2 separate regions of the Homo sapiens genome follow, and region 1 is linked to region 2. Evidence: promoter capture Hi-C in 16 types of primary human blood cells and fetal thymus (Javierre and others, 2016). All regions are on one chromosome and are shown on one strand. The core of a region is centred on a gene start or on the middle of the fragment in contact, and the rest is flanking DNA. Distances in the headings are between cores, read along the strand shown.

Evidence for each region. The method cuts DNA at HindIII sites, captures the fragments that hold promoters and counts their contacts. A CHiCAGO score of 5 or more calls a contact.
Region 1: a fragment that was not itself captured here is called in contact with the fragment with the promoter of KCND1 in region 2 in 1 of 17 cell types (M2 macrophages); the score reaches 5.3 in M2 macrophages.

What each region holds. Positions count from the first base shown.
Region 1 is chrX:49,050,888-49,058,576 of GRCh38, reverse strand. It overlaps a transcript of CCDC120 not described here. Among named protein-coding and RNA genes, the nearest start is that of CCDC120, 4.3 kb to the left of the region's middle. RefSeq lists silencers at 4,592-4,891, 4,942-5,021 and an enhancer at 4,943-5,237. The HindIII fragment of the contact is 503 bases long and covers 1,195-1,697 here.
Region 2 is chrX:48,968,442-48,975,553 of GRCh38, reverse strand. KCND1 (potassium voltage-gated channel subfamily D member 1) reads left to right here and starts at 3,710. Exons shown (of 6, transcript NM_004979.6): 1 at 3,710-6,403. The coding sequence starts at 5,283. It overlaps GRIPAP1 (GRIP1 associated protein 1), which reads left to right. Exons shown (of 26, transcript NM_020137.5): 25 at 245-399; 26 at 1,269-1,831. The coding sequence ends at 1,361. The HindIII fragment of the contact is 6,364 bases long and covers 3,263-7,112 here.

The sequences.
Region 1 (7,689 bases), core at 197-2,696, 85 kb before region 2:
TCCCAGAGGATTAGACGCTGCCCACCCAAGGGGCAACTTGGATCTGGGCCATAGAGGTGTGGGGAGCTGTAAAGTACATGGGAGGCTTCGGGTGTAAACTGAGTTTTTGTGTCTTGGCACTAAGCATCACATTCTGAGGCCCCTACCCTTTCCTCCCAGGGCAAGGCAGTGGTAGAAGGCCTTGGGGCAATTCCCACCCTCACTGGGGAATAATAGTTTCCCAAGTTGGGGACAGAGGAAGTCAACCTTTCTAAGGAGAGGTCAGGTCTCAAGATCCTTCTGTGGCTCCAGAAGAAATAATCTCAATAAATCAAGCACAACTTACACCCTACAAAACACTTATGGGTTTTGATCCCTCTTGGTTCCTACAAATGTAGCAGGATGGCACAGACCCAGCCTCCTCACAGCCATTTTATAGATGCAGAAGCTGAGGCCTGGAAAGGTGAAGAGGCCTGATTCAGATCACAGTGGCAGAAGAGCAGGTGAAATCAGAATTTCCGGGGGCTGGGTCCTGGCTGGGAGGCAGACAGAGGCTACTCCTGCAAGTGGGAAGGAGAAGTAGGGAAGGGGGCTCATGCTTCTTCACATCCATGCTGGGTCTCTCTTCTTCAGAGAGTCAGGCTTCATGCCAGAGAAGGAAATGAGAGCTTTGAGTCCTTACGACGTACTGTCCCTGCCTCCCCTCACCCCGCCCACCACCACCACCATCACCACCACCACCATCACCACTACCACCTGAGCTCTGGGCCAGTCCCGGCACACAGCACACATCCTGTGCTCCATTCAGGACCATCTGCTCTGTGACCCAGGGCCCAAGCCCTACCCAGACCCCTGCAGCAGCCCACACCATGACCTGAAGTGAGAAAAGCTGCAGATGGGCTGAGCCTAGAGAGGAGCTCACTCTGAATCAGCAATGCCCCAGACTCATACTATTAAGGCCTCCCGCCATCCCTGCCCACCTTTCTTCCTGGGTGTGAGATTTCCAGCATGGAACACAAAGGCCCCTTTCATCGCCCTCCCCACTTCACTGCCTGGGGCGGGCAGTGGTAAGGTGGGCATTGGGGAGTGTCCTCTCGGCCACAGCCTCTCCCACCTCTTATGGGCCACCAAAGATGTTGGGAAGTGAGACAGTAATAAAATCAGAGCCAAGAGGGATGAGAATCTGGCTGGCAATGTAGATTGAGTCTCAAAGCTTAGGTCTCCTCATCTGTAAAATGGGTAAAAGGTGGTTACAGAGACAATGGAGGCCCCAAATAACTTTGAAAGGCATTTCAAAGTGCAAGGAAACACACCATGTCATTAATGACTCTTACTAACAACAATTAATACACTCACACAGAGGTGGGCTGTTGTGGGGGTAACTGGGGGAGAGCAGGTAACTGGACCTCCTGGGCCAGGCAGACAAATGGGGCAGTCACTAACACACATCATTGCCCTGGTCCATGACTTTTAATAGCCTCGAAGAGGACCCAACCTCTAAGCCCTACCCCAGCTGGGCCCTGGGCCTCACGTGACCCTGCTGTCACTAGTAAATGGTGAGTCTGGGATTCAACCCAGCTCTGCCACTTACTAGCTGTGTGACTGCTTGAACAAGTCACTTAACCTCTCTGTGCCTCTCTGTCAATTGGGGACGATGATAACAGTATGTACCTCACGGGGCTATTGTGAGCATTAAATCAGTTAATACATTTAAAGCTTGTGCAGAACAGTGCCTGGTAAGAGCTCAGTGTATGTTGGCTGTCACAGTTACAAGTATTCTTCCCCACAGGAAGTCAGGAATCAAGTAGATACATTCAGACACATTTTTTCCAGACAGAGCTGGTGTCCTTCAGTCTCACTTGATACATTTGAAACAGTTGTTTTTCCTCAGATAACTTGTCTGAACTCTTGCTATCCAAAATCAGAGACTAAATGTATTCAGACGCAATTTTTTTTTTTTTTTTTTTTTTTTGAGACGGAGTCTCACCCTGTCACCCAGGCTGGAGTGCAGTGGCATGATCTCGGCTCACTGCAACCTCCACCACCCGGGTTCAAGCAGTTCCCTGCTTCAGCCTCCCGAGTAGCTGGGATTACAGGTGCGTGCCACCACACCCAGCTAATTTTTGTATTTTTAGTAGAGACGGGGTTTCACCATCTTGGCCAGGGTGGGCTCGAACTCCTGACCTCGTGATCCACCCGCCTCAGCCTCCCAAAGTGCTGGGATTACAGGCGTGAGCCACCGCGCCCGGCCTCAGATGCATTTTTGAGACAGAACTGGTATCCCTCAGCTTCCAAATCCCACTTGCTATCTAGACACGGTACCCTCCCTGCTCACCAAATGAGACATATTTGAAACAGAGCTGTTTCCCTCATGATCCAACCTCTCCTTTCTCAACATCAAAAATGCAGGAACCAAATACATTCAGAGAAATTGTCTGAACTCTCACCATCCAAATGCAAGAACTGAATGGATTCAGAAACATTTTTGAGATACGACTGGTATCCCTCATTCTTGAACTTTCCTTACCCTCCAAACAAAATGCAGGAACCATTTACATAACAGGGTACCCTCACTATCCCAACTCTTGTCCCTGGAGCTCAGGAAAGTTCATAGATTTGGATACATTTTTTAGTTAGTCATTATTCTTCATTATCTCAATTTTCCCTACTCACTATGTAAGATGTGAAAACAAAATACCTTCAAATAACTTGGTAGGTTTCACTGTCTGAACTTCGGGCACTCTCCCTCTCAGAATTCAGGTACCAAATAGATTGGGAAAGTGAGGAATGCTTGTTTTGTTATCAATAGGTTTGGATAGATTTTCAGGATAAGATAGGTCTGGCATCTTGTTATTCAAACTCACTAGTCTCTATGAGAAATGCAGGAACAAAACCCAATTGAGTAACACATTACCCTCTAGCTATCCAAGTTCTCCCCATCATCCTCAGAATCAAGGAGATTCGGACAATGAGGGGAACACTGCATTATTGTTGTTACTGTTACCACTGGATAGGCCTGATTCTTAAATCCAGTGACTGCCTGGCCTTCTCCCCCAAGACAAGCCCCACAGAGGTGGAGTGGACTTAGCACCAAGATTTTTATTGCTTACTGCTGAGAGAAGGAGGATGAATCCTTGACCCCATCCCTCCTCTATACCAAGTCCCGAAGCCTTGGCCTAGAATAGACTTCTTCTTTTTCAGTCCAGGAAAGCAGGGATCATGCACCCAGAATCAAACATGGCCTAGAAGATTCATACATACCCCTGGGTCCCCCATCTCTTCATATTTTCTTAACTCTTCCCCCCAACATGAGGCAGTCCCCAACACAGCAAGACTGGAAACATGACCCAGACCTCTCAGACTCCCAGAGAGTCACTGAATAATTTAGGGTATTCTTTCACACTTGCAGAGGGCAGGGGCGTAGGAACAGTTGCATGCCCTCCTGGGGCAGGAAGAGAAATGTAAGCTCTATGTAAGATCACTAGGGTGGGGATAGGGGAGATCACACACAAAAACCCCCATCAGCCACGCAGGGCACATAGGGCTGCTTGCTCTTGCTAAGAGAAGCATTTGGGATGTACTTCGGAGGTCCTGGGAACAGCAGAATCTTCAAGTTCCGGGCACAGTATAATGGGACCCCTGTCCTCGGCTCAGAAGGGATGGCAAGTGGATATTAGGAAGGAAGAAGATCTGAACAGGGTGGAGGGGCATGGTAAGGGGAAGAACACCCTGGGGCTGGGATGGGAAGGGACAGAACAGGAAGGAGTGTAGGGGACAAGATAGAGCCAGAGTTATCACAGGATGGAGGTCAAGAGGCAGGATGGGGAATGAGCCAGAACACTGGCCAGGGGATGGGATAAGGTGGGGTTCAGGACAAGGGTCAGAGAAAAAGTACAAGAAAGAGACAAAACAGCAGGGCAGGGGTCAGGATTAACATAGAACAGCAGTCAGAAGACATGACTAGGAAAGGCTAAGCCAGTGGTCAAAGGAGGGGACAGGGAAAAGGGCAGGTTCAGGATGGAGGTCAGGAACAGGAAAAGACCAGGACACAATGAGGATAGGAATGAGTATGGTGATGGGACAAGAAAAGAGGGAAAAACGGGGCAGAGTCAGGGGCAGGGACAAGGCAGGAGACGAAGGTGGTGAGCCAGGATGCAGATCACGAGTATATAGGAGAGGATATCACATAGGGTGCAGAGAAAGGACAGAAGTTAGAGGGCAGGAATCAGGACAGAACTACACCAGATTGTGGTTAGGGGGACAGGACATGACTGGAAGAGGTTTGGAGACTGGATAAGAGTTTAGGGAACAGACAGGTCAAGCGTCAGGACAGAAACTGGGGTCAGTGTTGGGCATTAGGATAGGGCAAGATGTTTCAGAGATGAGACGGGGTCAGGCAAGGATCAGGGTCAGGTCAAAGATCCCCAGGACATAACTGGATGGGGTTTGGGGTCAGGACTGGATTTAGGGGGACAAAACAGGGGTTGAGGACCATACCAGGCCAGAATATGGTTAGGTCAGGGCTCGGATGGAAGGTCCTGAGGCCAAGGCCAGCAGGGGTTGAGGTTTAAAAAAGATGTAGTCAGGTCGTAAGGGGTCAGGGCTGAGGCCACGGGGTCAGAGGTCGCGGGTGCGCGCGCAGGTACGCCCCGTCGGCGTTTCCGGGCCTTCACCCCACCCTGTCCCCTCCCTTCCTCCGCAGGCGGGGCTGGTTACTCACCAAGGGTCCCCGCGCCGCAGTAGGCGGGGTCGGTGTCGGTCGGCCGGCCGGGGCAGTGGACGCGCCCCTCCCTCACTGCGCCCTGCTCGTCCCCGGGCGCGCGCCTGCTCCTCTTCGGCGCCCTGCCCGTGGGCCGTGTTCGGCTGCGCTACCGTTAGCCGTGGGGGCCAGACGGGGGTCGCGGGGAGGGTAGGAGGGGAGCGCCGGCCCGGCCGCGGGCGATGGACCCCCGCCCCCACCTCTAACTCGGGTCTGTCCGCTTCCAGCGGCACGGCCACCTCCGCCGCTCAGCCTAGCCTAGAGGGTGGGGGGACCGGGGGGCGGGGCACGAGACCACAGCAGTGGCGGAGACTAAGTGCGCAAGCGCCGGCTCGGGTCTTCGATTTTTCTTGCCCTGGGAGCGCCAGGAGCGAACAAGCTGGGAGCGCGTGCGCACACGCTTTCTCGAGGGCGGCGGAGCCCTCCCTCGCCGAAGCCACGCCCCTCAGGGAGCCTACTGGCGCCCCTCACCCCAAGTCGTCCCCCAGGGACCCTCAAGCAGTACCCCAAGCTGCTCTCTGTAAGCTCTCCCCACACCTGTAAACCCCAGCTACCCTCCCTGTTGTTCCTCAAATGCACTCCAAACCAACCTCCATTATCCTCCAAATTATATCCCCAAACTACTGTCTGTTGATTCCAAGCGGTACCTCCAGTCCACCCTCTATGGACACCCAAGCTGTGGCAGTAAACTACCTTACACTACCCCCAGTTTGCTCCATCAAACCATCTGCAATCAGCCCTGAAACCATTACCCTCCAAACAGCATGTCCAAATCACCTGCTATCTACTTCCAATGTGCACCCGTAACACCCTCCATTGACCCCAAACTCCTCTCCATGTACCCTCCAAACCATACTCCATTGACCCAAAATGGCTCTCCAGGAGCCCCCAACACCAGCCCAAACATTCCTAATTACCCTCAACGTGGGCCTCACCTGCACCACAAAATAATTCCAACAGTCACCCACACTACCTCCAAACCATGTTCCATGGACCCCTCTTACCCAGCCACCTTTCATTGACCTCCCCTCGTATCCCCACAAAATTACCTTCCAACAGCCCCTATCACTGTGCCATATAACCCAACTATACTTTCTGTGGTCTTTCAACTGCATTTCAAGCCACCCTCCAGCACCATCTACACCTCTAACCCACACTCCACTGACCCAAACTGCACCTCAAACACTCTCCAACAGTCCTCAACTGTACCTCCGAATAGCCACCAACCATCCTGCTGTAGTTACCCAATTGGGCTCCCAAATCATACTCCAGTGGCCCCAAATGTGTCCCCTAAGCCCTCCAAAGACTTACTTGCACCCTGGATCATACTTAAGTGACCTAAATTACAAAGCACTCTCAGTGATTTTTTTCTTAAAACAACTTAACCGGGATATAATTTACGTACCAGGCCGGGAACAGTGGCTCACACTTGTAATCCCGGCACTTTGGGAGGCCAAGGCGAGTGGATCACTTGAGGCCAAGAGTTCAAGACCAGCCTGGCCAACATGGTGAAACCCCGTCTCTACTAAAAATACAAAAAAGTAGCTGGGCATGATGGCTCACACCTGTAATCCCAGCTACTCAGGAGGCTGAGGCAGGAGAATCGCTTAAACCCAGGAGGTGGAGGTTGCAGTGAGCCAAGATAGTGCCACTGCACTCTAACCTGGGCAACAGAGTGAGACTCCATCTCAAAAAATAATAATGATAATTATGTACCATAAAAGTCATCCACGATTAAGTGTGCAATGCAACAACTTTAGTAAATTTACCTAAGTGAGGCACAGTGGCTCACACTTGTAATCCTAGCACTTTGAGAGGCCAAGGTGGGCAGATCACCTGAGGTCAGGAGTTCAGGACCAGCCTGGCCAACATGGTGAAACCCCATCTCTACTAAAAATACAAAAATTAGCCAGGCGTGGTGGCAGGCACCTGTAATCCCAGCTACTCAGGGGGCTGAGGCAGGAGAATAGCTTGAACCTGGAAGGCGGAGGTTGCAGTGAGCTGAGATCATGCCACTGCACTCCAGCCTGGGCGACAGAGCAAGACTCTGTCTCAAAAAAAAAAAAAAAGAAAAGAAAAAAAAAAGAAAAAAATATTTACCAAAGTGTGCAACAATCGCTATAGCCCAGTTTTAGAGCATTTCCATTACCCCAAAAAAATCCCTCATGACTGAATGCCATTCCCATTCCCAACCATAGGCAACCACAAATCTACTTTCTGTCTCTATAAATTTGCCTTTCTTGGACATTTCATAAAAATGCAATATGTGGATTTTTTGTGTCTCACATCTTTCATTTAGCTTGATGTTTTTGAGGTTCATCCGTGTGGTAGCATGTAACAGTGGTTTGTTCCTTTTATTGCTGAACAGTAGTCTATCCAATGATCTTTAACTTCTCTCCAAATTACCCACCAATAGCTCCTCAACCACAACTCAAAACACCCCTCTGACATCCAGACTTCAAAACAGACCCCCAAACTGCACACTGGACCATACCTACCAGCCCTCAACTGTACCCCAGACCACTCTATAATCCCCAAATATCATCACTAAACTTCCCTCCCGAGCCTCATCTTCACCCCTAAAGCACCTTCCAGCAGTCTGCTCTACATCCTCAAACTGCCCTTTATCAACTCCCAAGAATATCCCCAAAATGCCTTTTCAGTAATACCCAAACCTAACTAAACTACTCTCCAACAATTCCAAACCCCACCCCTAAAATTCCCCTTCCAACAGCCCCAGCCATGACTCTACCCACTAACTACCTTCCTTTGGTCCCAGAACTGCAGACCCAGACTGTAACCTCAAACCACTCTTCACTGACCGCCATGCCCAACCTTGTCTTTTTTTTTTTTTTTTTTTTTTTTTGGAGATGCAGTTTGGCTGTTGTTGCCCAGGCTGGAGTGCAATGGTGAGATCTCTGCTCACTGCAACCTTCGCCTCCTGGGTTCAA
Region 2 (7,112 bases), core at 2,461-4,960:
CTGTGCTTCACATACAGTCATGTGCATCTTTCCAGTTCCACAAGTTAGTTATCCTCATTTCTCGGGGCCATAGAGCTAGTGAGTGACAGAGCTAGGTTTTGTATGTCAAAGCCTCTGTCCTACATGACATGGCTTTTCCTGCTGCCTTCTCCCCTGGTATTCGTCTCCCTCTTTTCTCCTCTGGCTCTGCCTGGCTCTCCTCTGGCTCTGCCGAGGGGGTGGTTTTCAGCCTGGGCCCTTGCAGATGTGTCTGTGGCAGCAGGCCACACAGACCGCAGCGGGCTGGGCAGCGTCCTGAGAGACCTAGTGAAGCCAGGTGACGAGAACCTTCGGGAGATGAACAAGAAGCTGCAGAACATGCTGGAGGAGCAGCTCACCAAGAATATGCACTTGCACAAGGCAAGTGTGGCCTGCCAGCCTACCCATCTGTTCACCCAGCCACCTGCCTACCCAGCCACATAGCCCCTGGGTCATCTGCCAGTCCCCTTGCCCACCCACCCAGCCTGTCCTCCCAGCTATCCTCCTACCCACTCATCAACTACTCCATCATGCTCTCATCTTCCACCCTCTCATCAACTTATTATCCATTCATTCCTTCCATGTACCCGCTCATCCATTTATCTACACATTCACCCAACCATTTGCCCATCTGTCCATCTACCCAATCTACTACTTACTTATCTCATTGTCTACCCCATGTCCTGCCACCCATTTCTTGACATATCATTCTCTTATCTACTCATCAATTGCCCCTTGTGTTACCTTTCACCCACCCAGTTACCTGCCTGCCCACCTGTTGATCTCCATCTGTCCTCTGGACAATTCATTCGTCCACCAATTTGTCTACCATAGATCCCCCATGCCCATGGGTCCACACACACATCTTTCTGCCCAAACTGCCACCCAAGGACTTTCCCCATCTCTGAGAGTTAGAAAGGGGTCAGACCCAGCTCCTGCCTTTGAGAAGCAAGCTCACACTTAGAAGAGCAGGTGGCCAGAGTGGTGGTGTATCCTGCAGCAGCACCATGCCACAGGAGGCATCCCACTCCCATTATCTGTAGCTCCCCACCCATCCTCATGACTTTTCTGAGCCCTGCCCACTGTTGGGGGTGCTGTGAGCTTCTCCAAGTACCTTCTCATCCCAGGCCAGACACAGCTGAGCATTGATTAATGAAAGGGTGTGAGGGAAATCACAGATGATACCCTACGTTTGGCAAGGGAGCAGCCTGTCCCCTTCTCTGGCCCCTGATGGTTCATTTGTTTCTTAGGATATGGAAGTTCTGTCCCAGGAAATTGTGCGGCTCAGCAAGGAGTGCGTGGGGCCTCCTGACCCAGACCTAGAGCCAGGAGAAACCAGCTAAAGACCTGCAGGCTGCACCCACCTCCTCCCCTTCCTACCCCCTAGGATGCTATTCCCTTGGGCTGTGGTGGAAAAATGAGGGCTGGAGCCAAAATCAAATAGCTTGGGAGACTGGACATTAAAGGGGCTAGAGGCCTGATGGTTAGTGTTAATGATCCTGTCTTAGGGCAGAGGCCACCAGGGAGTGGGGATCCTGAGGGAAGGGGCAGGGATTTCTCCTTCTTCTTGGTCCTGGCTCCCAAGGGCTTCTGTCTTCATCTCTGCATGAGCTCTCCTTCCCAGAGACCAACTCTTTTTATTTTATTTTATTTTATTTTTTAATTTATGTCTGGAGCCTGGCTACTCTGCATTTGGGATTGGGGATGCTGGGTGGGTGTGTGGTCCATGTTCAGCGTTCTAGCAACACGTGTGTGTGTGTGTGTGTAAAGGCTATGCAGCCAAAATACCATCTGGCCAGACGGGCCCACCCACTGACTGTCTCGTCTCGTTCTTTTCAACCAGGAGGAATATGCTGGGGGCGGGGAGGTTTACACCATTGGAATAGGGAGAGAGGTCTCTGGCTGCAACGTTACTCTCTTTTCCCCACCCTCATCCAGCCTGTCTCCATTTACTGCTGACCAGCCCCTCAAACTGAGTGGAGCTGAAATACCTGCAGATATGTACATGGGTAGACATGTATGGGATTGTGGGTATAGATGAGTAGACAGATGGGAGGATGGATAAGTGGTTGGATGGACCGATGGATGTATAAGTGAACGGTTGCATGGACTGATGATGGATAGATTGGGAAATAAATGGATGGATGGATAGGTGGTTAGATGAATAAATGGGTAGATAGATTGGTAGGTGGATAGAGGATGGATAGTAGAGATGTAAATGGACAGATGGATAATAGGTCTATGGACAAATGGGTGGATGATTTAGGTAGACAGGTGGATGGATGGGTTTATGGACAGGTTAGGAGTAAATGGACCAATGGTTGGGGGAATGGATGGATGGGTAGATGAGCTAATGAATGGGAAGGGTAAAGAGTGGGAGAAGAAATGACAAGTGGAGCTATGTATGGACAGAGATGGGCAGAGGATGTCACCCTGCATGTGTTCCGGGTGGGAAGAGATGGGCAGAGGATGGATACATACAGATAGATTGGCAAACAGCCAAATGGGGTGAACTTACAAATGGATGAATGAGTGGGTGGGTAGATTAACGACTAAGTGGACGGGTGGGTGGAGGGATGGATAGAGGAATTGATTGTGTGGGTGGGAGAATGGGTGGATGGGTAGGTGGAGGAATGGATGTAGAAATGGACAAATCAGGAGTGTGCCAAATGGGCAATTGGAAGTTTACACGGGTGGGTAAATCTTGGGTGAAAGGCTAGGCCTGGCCCTGCATTACAGTGCCCCTGTCATCACACTCCTTTAATTAAGATTAAGCATCCCTGGTGTGAGCTGTGTCCAGTGCTATCACCTTTCACATCATGTAATGCTCCAAATGACGCTATCAAGTTGGGATAAGTCTCTCCATCTGACAACTGAGGAAACAATGCAAGTCACTTGCTCAAGGATGCAGCAAGTCAGTGGCAAAGCTGGGGTTTGAACCCACCCATAGCCAGCCAGAGGCATTCCATAATCAGTGCTCCTGCCATCCAGAAGCAGAGCCCTCTAGCGGAGGAGGTGTGATTTGAGGCCACTGGATATGGACAGATAAGAGAGACTACCCCCTCGGAGTGGGGCCTGCCTGAGATGGTAGGGGGGTGGGACCTGGATTGTCCCCCTCTACATTCCCTTTACCCTCATTTCATATCTAAAAACAGGAAGTCCCGTGCTCCAATCCCACAGCCGAAGTCTTAGAGCTGGGGCTGTAACCCATGCTGCGCCCCTCAAGGGGGCGGCTTCGGAAGCTTGGCCATCTAGAGAAACACTCCCCAGCAATTACCCCCGACTCCTGGCTCTCCTGCCTTTCCACAGTCTGGGGGGCAGGGAGGGGACAGCGCTGCATCATTCCCTGTGGCACTCCGCTCTGGGGCCATTAACAGACGCCTTCCCATCGATCGGATCTGCTAAGTGCTGCTGATTCAGGCGAGTGGGGGTGGGGGCCCCTGGGGGCAGAGCGGGTAGGAGCTGGGCAGGAAGAGAGGGGAGTCCAGGAAGGAGGTGGAGAGAATTGGCGAAGTTCCCTGCCACCCCCATTTTCCAGATGACGCGACTGAGGCCCAACCAGCTTTGTAGGAGGCGGAGTCTCCCCAGGGTCCCTCTCTGGCTGTCCTAGGGGAGGGGGCTCAGGGAGCCACGAGGCCCCTCCCTGCCTCTCCATCTCCCGGCAAGCTCAGAGGGGCGGGGAGAGAGAGCCAGAGGAGGAGGAGAACTCAGGCAGCTCTGCAGAGGGGGCCAGGAGCTCGGGTGTTTGGTACCCCCAGCCCCACCGCTGTTGCTGCTCCTGCAGCGGGGACACAGGTGAGGACGCCCCGAGAGAGAGGGGGAGGGGGACCACCACTAGCGCTGTCCTCATCCTTCCCTGGTCCAGCCCCCACGCCCTAACCCATCCTGGGATAGTCCCCAGGGGTCCCACTGGACCTTGCCCTTCCCAGGCCTCCTTCCAGGGACCCCGCACCCTCCCCCTGCCTATGCCACCTTCTCTCCTATGCCTGGCTGTGGTTGCTTCTCTTCCTCCTGCTGCCGCTGCTGCTACTGCCACTGCCCAGTACACACCGCCAGCCCCTCGGGGTGTGGTTTCCCCAGACCTGCCCCCAACGGTGGGACCCAGCCTTCTCCCGGCGTCTCCTGCCAGCTTCCTGCAAAGCCCAGGAGCCCCCCTCCCTGGAGACACACCCAACTCCCTTTCAACACCCCACCCCCCTCTTAATCCCATTTTGGGGTTAACCCCCTTCCTCTTATTTAGTCTTCATAGATCCCCTGGGTGCTCTGGGATTGTGCCCAACTTCCTAACATTTGAGTCCCGGCCCTTGGAATTCCCCAGGCCCCTTTTTCCTCCCTGTAGAACTCCTGAGAGTGTCGACCAGGCTTTGTTGGCCCGTCTAGATACCCACCTCCCCCAGATAACTCTCAGCCTCTCAAAAAATAACCCAGCCCCCTGTCTACCCCTTTAGATAACCCCTTCCCCTCTCCAGCCCTACTAGGAGGCTCTGGCCTCTCCTTTCTTCCCCAGAACTCCTGTAGAGTATAGACACCCCCCCGGGCTATTCTTGGCAACTCTAGGCAGTCCCAAGACACCTTTCAGCCTCTTTACAACCTCCTGGATCCACAGCCACCCCTCAAGATGCACCAGCTCCCTTTCCAGATCCATGAGGGGGGTCTAACCCTCTTATGCTTCCCCTAGAAGTCTTGAGGGTGTGGACAACCCTCCTCACCTGTCTCAGCCCCTCTAGAACCCCCACTTCCAGGCACTCTCAGTCTCTTTCAAGCACCTCTGGTCCCATTTCTACCCCTCTGGATGCCCCAGTCTCCTCTCCACCACTGCAAAGGAATTCCAGGCTCTTCTGCCTTCCCTGAGACTCTTGAGAGTGCAGAGAATTCCCCACGTGTTTCTTGGCCCCTCTAGACGCCCCCAGACACCTCTCAGGCACAGGCTGACTCCTTTAGAATCATCTCAGTCTCTCTAAACCCTCCCTCAGCTCCTTCTTGGCCCCATCCCCACACCCCTTTTCTGCTCTTCTCCATGTCCCCAAGGCCCTTCTCAGTCCCTCAGAACATTGCCCAGGCCCCTCCTAGGTTCTGTAAATGTCCCCCAGACTCCTTCCCATCTCTTTAGTTCTTCCTCCTGGTTCCTCTTGGCCTCTCTAGACACCCCCAGTTTCCTTGTTTGGGTGGCTCAAGGTGTCTCCAAGCCCCCACCATCCTGGAGACAGCCACATTCTCCTAAACGCCACCCTCACTAAGTCTCCCTGGGCTTGGGGAGTGGCACGATGGCGGCAGGCCTGGCCACGTGGCTGCCTTTTGCTCGGGCAGCAGCAGTGGGCTGGCTGCCCCTGGCCCAGCAACCCCTGCCCCCGGCACCGGGGGTGAAGGCATCTCGAGGAGATGAGGTTCTGGTGGTGAACGTGAGCGGACGGCGCTTTGAGACTTGGAAGAATACGCTGGACCGCTACCCAGACACCTTGCTGGGCAGCTCGGAGAAGGAATTCTTCTACGATGCTGACTCAGGCGAGTACTTCTTCGATCGCGACCCTGACATGTTCCGCCATGTGCTGAACTTCTACCGAACGGGGCGGCTGCATTGCCCACGGCAGGAGTGCATCCAGGCCTTCGACGAAGAGCTGGCTTTCTACGGCCTGGTTCCCGAGCTAGTCGGTGACTGCTGCCTTGAAGAGTATCGGGACCGAAAGAAGGAGAATGCCGAGCGCCTGGCAGAGGATGAGGAGGCAGAGCAGGCCGGGGACGGCCCAGCCCTGCCAGCAGGCAGCTCCCTGCGGCAGCGGCTCTGGCGGGCCTTCGAGAATCCACACACGAGCACCGCAGCCCTCGTTTTCTACTATGTGACCGGCTTCTTCATCGCCGTGTCGGTCATCGCCAATGTGGTGGAGACCATCCCATGCCGCGGCTCTGCACGCAGGTCCTCAAGGGAGCAGCCCTGTGGCGAACGCTTCCCACAGGCCTTTTTCTGCATGGACACAGCCTGTGTACTCATATTCACAGGTGAATACCTCCTGCGGCTGTTTGCCGCCCCCAGCCGTTGCCGCTTCCTGCGGAGTGTCATGAGCCTCATCGACGTGGTGGCCATCCTGCCCTACTACATTGGGCTTTTGGTGCCCAAGAACGACGATGTCTCTGGCGCCTTTGTCACCCTGCGTGTGTTCCGGGTGTTTCGCATCTTCAAGTTCTCCAGGCACTCACAGGGCTTGAGGATTCTGGGCTACACACTCAAGAGCTGTGCCTCTGAGCTGGGCTTTCTCCTCTTTTCCCTAACCATGGCCATCATCATCTTTGCCACTGTCATGTTTTATGCTGAGAAGGGCACAAACAAGACCAACTTTACAAGCATCCCTGCGGCCTTCTGGTATACCATTGTCACCATGACCACGCTTGGGTGAGTGTGGACTCTGCGTTGGGGGCTGCCCGATTACACTCACCCTTTCTGTAAAATTAGGAAGTTTAAAGGAATGATCTCTTTCTTTCTTTCTTTTTAAATGGAGTCTTACTCTGTCGCCCAGGCTGGAGTACAGTGGCAAGATCTCAGCTCACTACAACCTCTGCTTCCTGGGTTCAAGTGATTCTCCAGCCTCAGACTCCCAAGTAGCTGGGATTACAGGTACACGCCACCATGCCCAGCTAATTTTTGTATTTTTAGTAGAGACGGGGTTTCACCGCGTTGGCCAGGCTGGTCTCAAACTCCTGACCTCAGGTGATCCGCCCGCCTTGGCCGCCCAAAGTGCCGGGATTACAGGTGTGAGCCACCGCGCCTGGCCTCTTTCTCTTTTTGAGCTTCAGTTTGCTCATCTGTACAAACTGAGGGAGCTGGACTTAATTCTTCAGATCCCTCCCAGCTCTGACAATGCCTTGATTTTCTAGGTCAGGAGACTTGGGTTCAAGGATTGTCTTAGCTGCTCTCTTTCTGTTGATGTCGTTTTCTCATGGCCTCAGTTTTCCCCTCTGTAAAATGGGAAATGCTGATCCCTTCATCATCTAGAGAGGATTCAATGACATCATAGTTGTGAAAGTTCTCTGAATGTTTCTGGTGCAGGATACATAGGTGTTGGCTTTCTAGCACCTTTTTCTGTTTTGGGGACCCATGTCTC